2 separate regions of the Homo sapiens genome follow, and region 2 is linked to region 1. The links are contacts of gene promoters, found by promoter capture Hi-C in blood cells and fetal thymus (Javierre and others, 2016). All regions are on one chromosome and are shown on one strand. The core of a region is centred on a gene start or on the middle of the fragment in contact, and the rest is flanking DNA. Distances in the headings are between cores, read along the strand shown.

Evidence for each region. The method cuts DNA at HindIII sites, captures the fragments that hold promoters and counts their contacts. A CHiCAGO score of 5 or more calls a contact.
Region 2: a fragment that was not itself captured here is called in contact with the fragment with the promoter of TCEAL6 in region 1 in 5 of 17 cell types (total CD8 T cells, naive CD4 T cells, total CD4 T cells and 2 more); the score reaches 7.0 in total CD8 T cells.

What each region holds. Positions count from the first base shown.
Region 1 is chrX:102,141,231-102,147,512 of GRCh38, reverse strand. It overlaps TCEAL6 (transcription elongation factor A like 6), which reads left to right and starts at 5,032. Exons shown (of 3, transcript NM_001006938.3): 1 at 5,032-5,160; 2 at 5,727-5,799; 3 at 6,158-6,282. The coding sequence starts at 6,182. LOC105373299 (a long non-coding RNA gene) reads right to left here and starts at 5,785. Exons shown (of 3, transcript XR_007068283.1): 1 at 5,704-5,785; 2 at 4,405-4,519; 3 at 3,548-3,870. The HindIII fragment of the contact is 10,164 bases long and covers 1-6,282 here.
Region 2 is chrX:102,893,255-102,899,424 of GRCh38, reverse strand. It overlaps ARMCX5-GPRASP2 (ARMCX5-GPRASP2 readthrough), which reads right to left. Exons shown (of 19, transcript NR_146584.3): 15 at 1,661-1,851. It overlaps LINC00630 (long intergenic non-protein coding RNA 630), which reads right to left. Exons shown (of 12, transcript NR_146589.1): 6 at 1,661-1,851. Among named protein-coding and RNA genes, the nearest start is that of RAB40AL, 41 kb to the left of the region's middle. The HindIII fragment of the contact is 5,900 bases long and covers 1-4,517 here.

The DNA.
Region 1 (6,282 bases), core at 3,783-6,282:
CTTATAAGGAGACACAGGGAAATTTGACACAAAGGAGAAAGAAAGGTATGTGATGATGGAAGCAGAGAGACATTTGAAGATACTATGCTGCTGGCTTTTAAGATGAATGAAGGGGACGTAAGCCAAGGAATACAAGAAATTCAGCTCCAGAAGTTGAAAAAAATAAGGCAGTGGATACCTGCTGACTCTGGTTAAAACCCCATGAAGGCATTTTAATTTCTTACTTCTAGCATTGTAAGAGAATAAGTTTTTCCTATTTTAAGCCACTAAGTTTGTGGTAATTGTTACAGCAACAATAGGAAATAAATACAAATAGTTATAAACGTATATTTGTCTGTAACTCATTTTTCTCTTATTAGATTAGAAAGAAAACTTGATAAAACAATAATTACAAAACAGATATAATGGCTAAGATGTAATTTCTATGACACTCTTCCTAAATCACAAAGGAGGAAAGAGGAAATGGAGATAGTTTTGCATCCCATTAAAATTATTGATACAAATTCACTTGTTTTAAATTAATATACTAATTTTAATCCCTAGGCCAACTACACAAGAAAATTATTCAAAAACTTTGTACAAGAAAAAGGAGAATTAAAATGGTAGGCCAAAAAAATATCCTTTTAAAAGTAATTCAATAATGGAGAAATAGAGGAACAAAAACACACAACAAATGGAAAACAAATAGCAAAACAGCAAATGTAAATATCACCTTATCATTATTGCATTAAATATAAGTTGATTAAACACTTCAGTCAAAAGGCAGAAAGTAGCAGAATGGGTAAAAAAAAAAAAGCATGATACAACTATACACTATCTAAAAGAGAATATATTTAAATAAGCAAATAAAATTAATGTGAAAGGATGGAAAATATATACTATGCAAAGAATAACCAAAAGAGTCAGATGAAAAAGACATTAAGACAAAAAATGTTATCGTAGAATAAAAACGTGTTATATAACAAGTCCTATCCTTCAGGACTATACAAAAATTATAAACATATATGAACATAAAACAGATTTCCAAAATACATAAAGCAAAAACTTACAGAATAGAAGGAAAAAATTAGAAGAGAATCAAGATAATTTAACAATAGTAATTGGAGACTTCAAAACCACACATTCAAAAATAAATGAAACAAATAAGAATATCAACAAGGAAACAGAAGACTTAAACAAAACTACAAAACCAACTGGAATAACAGACATGTATAGAACACTCCAAACAGCATAAGCATACACATTCTTGTCAAGCACCCATGGAACATTTTCCTGGAAAGACTACATAATAAATAATAAAATCCTATATACACTTAAAAGTATTGAAATTATAAAAATAATATTCCATGATCATAATGGAATTAAATTTGTAATCAACAACATAAAGAAATTCAAAAACCCTGCAAATATGTGGAAATTAAACAATGTACTTCAATTCAACCTGAAATATCATGAGAGAAATTGGAAAATACTTTAAAAACAAAAAAAAACCCCACAACACATCAAAAGTTATGGGATATAGTTAAGCAGCATTTAGATGGAAATGTGTAACAGTAAATGTTTACTTTGAAAAGATGAAAATCCCATATCAGTAAACTTTCATCTTAAAAAGCTACAGAAAGAAGAGCAACTTAAATCAAAGAAATCAGAAGGAAGGGAATAGTAACCACTAGAGTGGAAATAAATGAATTACAGAATAGAACATCAATGAAACTAAAAGTTTGTTCTTTGAAAATATATATAAAACCTGACAAAACTTTAGCTACACTCACCAATAAAAAATGATGAAGACTGAAACTATTAAAATCAGGAATAAAAGAGGGGTCATCATTAGCAACTCTACAGATATATAAAAAAAGATTATAAGGTAATACTATTAACAACTGCATGACAAAAAAATGAGACAAGGTAGATGAATGGGATGAATTCCAAAAAAGACACAACCTACCCAATTGACTTAAAAAGAAATAGAAACACAAGTAACATCATTAAAAATGGTAGTGTATGGAACTCCGGAACTCCATAATGAGCAATTAGTGAGCTGGCAAAAACTGCTACCATCAGCTTTCTCAGAACTCTGGAATCCAGTCAAAAAATTATAACAATGAGAGGAAAATTTGGTGAAGAATAAAAGCTGCTAATTTGTGGTAAGAAAGAAATTTTCAATTGCCTATCTACCATTCTCTATGCCCCAGATTAGCAGTGATCTGTTGATGATAGCCCACTATCCTGGTTTAGATAGCTAGTACCAGTGGTAGGAATTTGGACCGTATTCTCATAGAAGTGTGGTATGGCTATCAGCCTGCCTGGCAGCACTTTCATCACTAAGGCTTCTTTCATTACACCAGACTGGGAGGACTCCCAGGGCTTGGGCTGCATTGGCTCTCCAGTTGGCTTTTGCCAGAAGCATTTAAAATCACAGGTATTGACCAAAGAAGTCTGGAGCAAAGGACAACACTCAGAATAAGCAATGAACAGACCGAGAAGCCTGAGAAGGAAGAGTTAGGGAAACAAGATATGTGGAAGAACAAGCATTTTAAAAAACCCTTTATATATACTGGAAAATCAAGAAGGCCATGTGTATGCCAAGGGTGGGACACATACTCAGAAAAGACCAGAGAAAATGCAAGCATTCAACTTCATTGAATTTGAGCTTCAGGCTCTGCATAAGAAAAATGCAAAGCATTAAAAAGGTACTCCAACTCAGAGTTCATCTGCAAAGACTGGGAAATTTGTTTTGTTTTGTTTTGTTTTTGAGATGGAGCCTCACTCTCTAGCCCAAGCTGGAGTACAGTGGCATGATATCCGCTCACTGCAACCTTCGCCTCTGGGGCTCAAGTGATTCTCCTGTCTCAGCCTCCCAAGTAGCTGGGACTAGAGACGTGCGCCACCACACCTGGTAAATTTTTTTGTATTTTTAGTAGAGACGGGGTTTCACCATGTTGCCCTGGGTGGTCTTGAACTCCTGAGCCCAGGCGATCCACCTGCCTCGGCCTCCCCAAGTGCTGGGATTACAGGTGTGAGCCACCGCGCCAGGCCAGGAAATTATTTTTTTATTTATTGTTTTTCTTTTGTTGGCTTTAGGTACTTAGAGTAACGGCATCCAAACACCAGCTGATTAATAAGCTAATAAAACACAGACTTCAGTGGCCACACATGACAAAGAATACATAATTTGCTAAAATACTTTAAAAAGTCACTAAGTAAACAATAACCCACGAGAGAGTAACAACAAAACCCAAGGAAGAGGGAAAATCTAATTTCCAGAGTCAACATATTAGAATCAAAATATACAGATTTCAACAAAACTTTGTGAGGCATATAAGGAAATAAGAAAACATAGCCCATACACAGGAAAGAAATAATTAGATACTATCATGAAAAAGCCCGTGTATTAGAATATCTAGAAAATATTTTTAATCAACTGTCTTATATATGCTCGAAGAACTAAAGGAAATCGTAAACAAAGGACTAAAGAAAAAGAGAAGAATGTCTCAGCAAATACACAATATCAGTAAAGATGTAAAAATACAAAGAGATGTAGAAATTATAAAATAAATAGAAATTCTTTATTTGAAAAGTACAATAACTAAAAGTCACTAGAGGGGTACAACAGTAGGTTTGGGCAGGCAAAAGAATCAGTGAACTTAAAATAGGTCAATTGAGATTATTCAGTCCGAGGAGCAGAAAAATAAAAGTAATGTGAAAAATGAACAGAGCACACCTATGCATGATGGGGGTTCAACAAGGAGAGAAACAGAATAGAGAAGAAAGAATTTTCAAAGGAAAAATGACTGCAAATTACTCAAACTTGAGGAAAGACACTAATCGATGTATCCAAGAAGTTCAATACACTCCAAACAGGATAATCTGAAAGAGATCCAAACAAAAACATGTTATAAGTATCTTGTCAAAACCCAAATATATGACACTACACTGTAGTGACAAGAATATTAAAAATTTTCTAGTTCTTTGGGTTCAGTGGTGGTTTCACAAATGTGAAAGAGAAAAACAATGGAAGGAAAGTAAACAGTTATTAGCAATTTTCTAGTTCTTTGGGTTTAGTGGTGGTTTCACAAATGTGAAAGAGAAAAACAATGGAACGAAAGTAAACAGTGGGGGAAAAGAAGGGAAAGCAGGGGAGAGAAGAGTAGTCAATGAGAAGAGCATGTTGTGAACCAAGGGTTATGATGAATTTGTGGATCTGCAGTTCATATTAAAAACGTTTGAATGCTTTCCTTTCTAGCTGTCTGACATTCTCTTTCTATGAAAACTGGTCAACTGTTGGAAGGTAACTTTCAAGTGTGGAGAAAGGCCAATGGAGATTATAAGAAGGAAGTTGGTAAATCAATTTGGGGTACATGGGCTTTTGAAATCAATTTGTGGTACAGGGTTTTTACATACCGTGTCCCTCAGGGATACTCAGGCGGTGATGTCCAATAAACAGTTGGCAAAGCTGATATGAGACACGGAGAAGGGAACAGCCTGGAGCTGTAGATCTGGGAGTCATCGGTGTTTACTGGAAATGAATGAGATCACACAGGGAGAGACAACTTGAGGACTGAGGAGAGAGGAGGCCCAGGACAGAACCCCAGGAACACCGCCACTCAAGGTGGCAGCTCAGCTTCCTGGCAGGCACCACTACCCCCCGGGCTCTGGAGTCAGGCAGAGCCGGTATTGAAAGTGGGCTGTGGAGTTCTGGGGCTAAGCGCTCTTGGCAAAGTCGGGTACCCTCTCTGATCAGCTGTCACACCTGGCGATAATGGGCATCAGAGAGAGATGCCTTGCGAGGATGCTGTGAGCTGCGTCAGGTAAAGCACCTGAGATCAGAAAGCCACCCCCTCCTCCTCTTCTTCTTGATGACCCCCACTCCTTTGTTACACACACCCTCTCCCACCTTCCGCAACCTCCTGGTCCCTCGGGGATGGATGGTGAGGTGGGCGGGAAGGGGGTGGTGGTGGCCTAGCTCCCGTGACGCGGTGCTCACGTGAGTGACCAGGCGCCTACGTGGGCACCAGCCCCCGCGCCCGCCCGCCCGCCCAGCGGTCCGGTCCAGGCGCCCGCGCAGAATCAGCTGTCTGAGCTGCCCAGGCGGCGGGGGAGCAGCGAGCGGGCTTCAGCGAGCCGCAGGAGGCACAGGCCTGTCCTGGGTCCCCGCAGGTCAGTGTGAAGGCGTGCGCTGCCGGCGGACCCTGGGACAGGGGTGGAGGGGGCTGGCAGTAGGATTGGGGAGGGGGCGGAGAAGGGATCCGGTAGATTGGGGAGGAGGGGGATGCTGAGCGGGCCGGGGCGGGGGCAGGGGAGGGAGCACCCCGAAGCGAACCTGGCTCGCCTTCTCGACGCCCCTTGCACTGAGCCCTCCATCCATTTTAGTGCTGGAAATGGGGGGCTGGGGGTAGCGACCCCGCAGTGCGACAGTGAAACACAGACTTATTCTGGAAATAACCCCCTCTCACAATCCGCTCCCATGGAAACATCTGACCTCCGCAAAAACGGGGTGGCGCTGAGACAGGTTGCCTCCGGGGGAAGGGGCACAAAGAGGCAAACGCAGTTTGGAAGCATCCTGGTTTGGTGCCCGAGGCCTGGAAAGAAATGGCGGCTGGGGTGCGGGGGAGGTAGGGGAGGAAAACATTGGGTGAGCAGGGCCTAGACTCAGAAAAGGGAACGGAGTCCCTGTGAGCCCGCTGAGCGCGCAGCCCCTACCCCTGTCTCCTGTCTGTCCGCAGGTCTGCGCGTCTGTTGTTCCCAGCGCTCTTGGAGGCCTGCAAAGGAAGAGCAACCTGTCCAGACTCCCCGCAGGTCCGTGAAAGCAGGGGGCTGCATGGACAGGGGCCCACAAGGGTTGAGAGTGTGGAGGGCCCGGCCAAGGCCAAATTGGGACCCCTGCACATAACCCCACCCACGTGAACACACACCTTACCAGGCTGAATCAGTTCAGAGAAGGTGGCAGGGCCTGCCAGGGTATGGCTGGCTCACGTGTGTGGGAGGAGTGGTGGGCTACGTGCTGGGCAGAAGGCCCTCTTGGAGGCCCGGCCAGCTTAGGGGAACCCTCACCAGGGGTGAGATGCAAGTAGTATCCAGACCTGCATTCCACCCCATGCCCTCAGTCTCCCATGTCTCTTATTTGTCTCCTCTTCCCTCCACTGTCATCCCCCAGGACAGGAAAAAGAGAAATCTCGACATGGAAAAACCCTACAATAAAAATGAAGGAAACCTGGAAAACGAGGGAAAGCCAGAAGATGAAGTAGAGCCTGATGATGAAGGAAAGTCAGACGAGGAAGA
Region 2 (6,170 bases), core at 318-2,817, 760 kb before region 1:
ATCTTATTAGTTTTTGTGGTTTTGGCATAGTTAATGTGTTTATTGTTCATGTATCTAACTATTTGACTTCTCCACTGAAATTATTTGCCAAGCTCTTTGTTAGTGTGCTTCACAAAGCATGAATTCTAATCCAGTATCTCAGCTCTAGTTTGTACGGATTTTTCCAGAGTTTTTACGCTATTCTTAGTTTTTTTTAATTTAGAATTTTTCAATTTAAATTATCTTCTGACTTAAAACCACATGGATCACAATTTTTAAAAAAATGTTAAACTGCCTTGGAACATGTAATGGCAGTGCCCAAGGAGATTAGATCATTCCCGAGACCAGGAGGCACAGAGACAAACTGGAGAAAACTTTAGAATAATTCAGAATTACCTGCTAATCGAGACACAACAAAGGTATTTCCCTGATGTACAGAAACTTGCCTAAAGTACCCTGATCTGAATAATGGTCATAATTCAGTGGGTATTCTTGTGGGTAACTTGAATAGCTGTTGACATTAAAGAAGATGAAATACAGAGTGCATTTGCCTAAAGGAGTTGCGATGGTTAACACTGAGTGTAAACTTGATTGGATTGAAGGATACAAAGTATTAATCCCGGTTGTGTCTGTGTGGGTGTTGCCAAAAGAGATTAACATTTGAGTCAGTGGGCTGGGAAAGGCAGATCCACCCTTAATCTGGTGGGCACAATCTAATCAGCTTCCAGCAAATATAAAGCAGGCAGAAAAATGTGAAAAAGAGAGACGGGCCTAGCCTCCCAGCCTACATCTTTCTCCCGTGCTGGATGCTTCCTGCCCTCAAACATTGGACTCAAAGTTCTTCAGTTTTGGGACTCGGACTGACTCTCCTTGTTCCTCAGCTTGCAGACAGCCTATTGTGGGACCCTGTGACTGTGTAAGTTAATACTTAATAAACTCATATATATATACACACACATATATATGCTCACCTGTCTCAAGTACAACACTTGAGTTTCTGCCTGAGCCCACTCACCACTTCAGGCATCAGCCAACTCATGTGTCCCTACACACAGGTCTCTTGGCACAAAGAATGGGATCTCACCTCTGTCATCTTCACCCAGAAAAGTTGTTGAGTAAAGACTCATGGGGTTACAATAGCAGGTGGGTGAAATCTCACCATTTCTCAAGCCCAGAAACCCATCTTCTAAAAGGGAGGCTGCTCAGGGTACTCTAGGGAGGGTGAGGGATGGAATTTCATTCAAACCCTGCCACTTACCTGAAGAGGTGACTTAGGCTCTGTGAGCCTGAGGTTAGTCATCTGTGAAATGGGACTGACCATACCATCCTTACATAGCTGTCTGATGGGTATATGAGGAAACCTCTTGAGAGTATATGGCATGGGGTGGGACTTAAATGGCCTTTAAATGGGACACAGCACTAGGGGCTGGCTGAGCCTCAGTGCTAAGGCAGGCATTGTGAAAAATCATTTCTCATTGCTCCCCCTTATGAGAACACAGACATCTATTTGAAGAAAGCAAATGTCCCTGTGACATGCCTTGAGTTCAAAGTTTTGTAGACAGTAGTTTCTCTGCTTCGTGGGTGTTATCAGAAGCTCGTAAGAGCTGCCCAACATCATGCTTCTGAGATGACCCAAATTTAGTTCCCCACACTGGGAAGACAGGCATGTCTTTGAACTTACCTGCTGAGCTCAGAGACAGCAGCAGGGATGCAAGGTTTGGTGTTCGCCCAGTGGCTGCTCCTAGACTACTTGGTATGTTAATATATTTATTGGTATATTCTAGATCTGTCCCAAAATCACCAGTGCAGGGGTTTTCAGATCATGCATTAACCAGCCACATCGGATCAGAATTTCAGCCATCTGCTGCCTCCCTGAGAGACAAAAATCCAAGAGTTACTAGCATTTCTTCACACACAATGTCTATTCTTTCATTAGGTAATAACTAAATACCTATTGAGCTCAAACCCATTCTATTCCATCAGAGGTATCTCATGAGCTCCAATGTGATATAAAAGCATAAGGGAAATAAACATGTGGTCAACTTCAAGGGTTAATTCTGAGATAGCTTTTTTTTCACATTAGCTTTTAACTTGGTCAAGTTTCAAGAAATTGAAGATTTAAAAAAAAAATCTCTCCTTGGACCCCCTTATCACCCATTCAGCTACAGGATACAGTTCTCCCTGTCTCTGTCTCTCCCTCCCTTATCCTTCTTCTCCTTCATATTCGAAGTACCAAAAAGAGTTTTCTACATGCTCTGTTAACATTTTTCACTTCCCACTCATCATCCCACTGCCCTATGGCTTCTGTCTCTGGGATTGCCATGAACATTCTCTCCAAAGTCATAATCCACCCATTTCTTACTAGGTCCAGGTTTTGTATAAATACACTAACATAGGGCATATTACTTTTAATGAGCTCCTAAAGTATGTATGCTTGCAGACTGCTTCTTTCACCTAACAACAGAGCTTTCACAGTTTCCCAGGCTCTAGAGCATGATGCACTGGACATAAGTCCAAGCTGTCCCACTCCTTAACTGTTCAGTCTTAGGCAAAGTCATTATCCTCTCTGTCCCTCAGTTTTCCATTTGTAAAATTGAATTCTGCAATAGTATTTAACTCATAAGTGTGTTCTGGGCACTGAATGATCCAATACATTAAAAGCATATAGTACCTACGAAATGTTGGCACTTTTAAATACTTTTCACATGTCTTACTGGCATTCGTATCCCTGTAGCCATGAAAAAAAATTAGGGTATTGACCAATGTTTATTCATAATCAATGACATTTGGGGTATGATGTTTGTACATGTAATAGTTTCCTAGGGCCACCATAACAAATTATCATAAACTTTGCATATTTAAACAACAGCAATTTATTATGCCATGATTCCGATGTACAAAACCAAAGCCTGAAGTACAAAATCAAGGTGTAGGCAGGACTGCACTGCCTCCAAAGCCTTTAGGGGAGAATCCTTTCTTAGCTCTTCCAGCTTCTTGTGGCTCCTGCTTTATTTGATTTGAGGTGGCATAACTCAATCTCTGCCTCAATATTCACATGGCCTTCTTCCCTGGATGTGTCAAATCTCCCTCTGCTTTCTTTTATATAGATACCAGTCATTGGAGTTAGGCATCAACCTACATTCAGGATATTCCCTTCTGGAGATCTTTCACTTCATTATGTCTACATAGAACCTATTTCCAAATAAAGTTTGTGTGGGTTAGGATTGGGACATGTTTTGAGGGGGACACAATTCTACCCACTACAGTTAAATAAGCAAGTTACACTACTAAATGGAAGATAAAGTATCTTCTGTATGTACATGGACTGGCTGATCTCTGAGATGTTGAACTAGACCAAGCTGTGGCCCTTTGGAAAGGGAACCTGGATGGTAGTCTATTAACAGGTACACAACTACTATATAAAGGGTATTTTATATTTCATCTCATTTTGATTTCAACAATTCTATCCAGTACCAATAATTATGCCCATTAGTTGGATCAGGGAACACAAATTAAAAGACTGGTAACTTGATCTAGGGAAACTACCTTATAAACTATTGTTCCAGGATTCTAAACCTAGAATTATTCAAAACATTTTTTCCCTTCTGTCCTGTCAGCTAACATTTGATATAACTTCAAGCATATATATATATATATATATATTTTTTTTTTTTTTTTTTTGAGATGGAGTCTTGCTCTGTCACCCAGGCTGGAGTGCAGTGGCATGATCTTGGCTTATTGCAGCCTCTTCCTCCCAGGTTCAAGCGATTCTCCTGCCTCAGCCTCCTGAGTAGCTGGGACTACAGGTGTGCATCACCAAGCCCAGATAATTTTTTGTATTTTTAATAGAGATGGGGTTTCCTGATGTTGGCCAGGCTAGTCTCAAACTCCTGACCTCAAGTGATCTGCCCATGTCGGCCCCCCAAAGTGCTGGGATTACAGGTGTGAGCCACTGCACCCAGCCTTAAAGCATTATTATTGTTGAGTTGTTCTTTCGAAAACAATGTGCTGAAGTGCTTTTTAAATAGTAAAAAATTATAAAGTATAGAATTGTATCTGTATAGCCAAAATAGAAAATAAAAAGAAATATAAAAATTTGGGAGAAATTATTTCTAACCCATATTCAATCATGCTTTATATCCTCCAAATATGAAATATTCATGAACAAGAGAAGTAAGCCAATCATATCAAGAGACAATATATAAATCTCAGAAAAATGATATAAATTCCAACACTTGGGAATACACCAAAACAAAAAATATGAAACAGAATCATATTTAGTCAACCAGTTAAGTCATAAATTATAATGTAGTGCATGGATTTATGTAAAATAATTTATATAGATAGATTAACATGGATTTAGAGGTGTGTGTGTCAATAAAAGTAAGTTAGTATACTACATGCAGAGAAAAACATCCGAAGAGTACATACCAATAAATTAAGAGAAACTATCTTTGTATTATGGAGAAGGAGAAGGTGTGACAGATAGAAAATATTTTTAATATGTAATATACATTTCGATTATATTTGATAAAGCTTAAACAATGAAAATAATTAACTGATAATGTGATAAAGTTATTGAGATTCTGTTCTGTAAATCAGAAAACTCTGTGACCCTAGTCACAAAATTATAGTGTAGAAATGCATTTATTAAGAATCATGTTCATATGCTGCTGTGTGAAAATAGTACATTAAAAAATTCTATTTCATAAATCAGTGTGTGCACATTGTAGGGAGACAGGATTCTTTTATTTTATAAATGTGCAATTCTCTAGTGTTTTAAATTTAGAAACCTTATTGTACAAAATGTGGAAAACAAAAAGTTGTGAAATTACAAATATGATGCTCTTATATTCATTGCTTTGGAAACATGTTCACATTATACTGTTTTATGCGTAAGACAAGTAGGTCAAAACTATTTATTTGACAGTGTGTTTGTATGTTTCAGTGTGGGTATCTGCATGTTGTTTGTATCTCAGTCTTCTTCACAACAATTATACACACACAAACTCTTGCAGCTTTCTATTCAGTTCGCAGATAGAGAGTAAGGATAAGGTCACCCTTGTGTTGGTTTCATCCTTGGTTCTCCTCATGAGTAAGGGACTACATGCTTACTTTCTCTTTTAGCCCTTCACTATATCAGAGTTGTGGATTTCTGGTTTTGTGCTTGTCTTTTCCCTAGGAGAGAAGTCCCTCCCATTTGGTCTTCTAGCTGACATGGAGTTTCTGCTTTATGCAAGACTGCCTCTCCCATTTGAGGGATGTGGACCCAGATCCACAAAAGACTGAAAAGAGTAGAGACTGAATTGTCAAAGACAAGCACAGGAGTAGGACTCCTATCCAAATATCTAATTCTCCTGATTTAGTGAGATGGCTTTCATGAACTTCTCACATGATGTTCTCCTCCCCTCAGCATTCCTCTTACTCTGTGGGGAAATAGGAATTCTCATACATTGCTAGAAGTAATGTTAAATGGTACAATCCCTGTTGGGGGGGGGTTGATGCTATCTATAAAAATACATTGGTATTTACTCTTGGAAACAGCAATCCCTCTTCTAAAAATCCATCCCAAAGAAACACTGCAAAAAAGATAAAAGGCATATACACAAGGCCATTTATGGTAGAAAATTCCTAACAGAATAGTAGTAATATGACAGATGCCCAGTATAGGGCCAACTAAATAATCTAAGGTACAACTACACCCTAGAGTACTATGCAAGTATAAAAAGCAAGGAGGACTCCCTCTCTATACTGCTATGACTAATGTCCACGGCACATTGTGAAATAAAAAGCAAGAAGAAGAAGAAGAAGAAAAAAAGTATAGAGCAGCAGTGTCCAATACAGTAGCCACTACTGACACGTGGCAACTTAAATTAAATTACAAACTCAGTTTCTCAGTCTCACTCATCACGTTTCACATGCTCAATAACCACAGCTAGCTAGTGGCTACTGTGTTATACAGTTTAGATACAGAACATTTTCAGTTCTGGATAAATTTTTACTGAGGAGGTAATATAATAAATAATATACATATTGTATTTGCTTATATTTTTTAGAACGAGGGTAATAACAAAAACTAATAAAATGATTACCTACCATAAGACAGAGAAGCAGCCCAGGATAAAAGCAGATGACATTTATCTCTTACAAAGGATACACATTTTCCTGGTTAAACACACTGGAGAGGACAA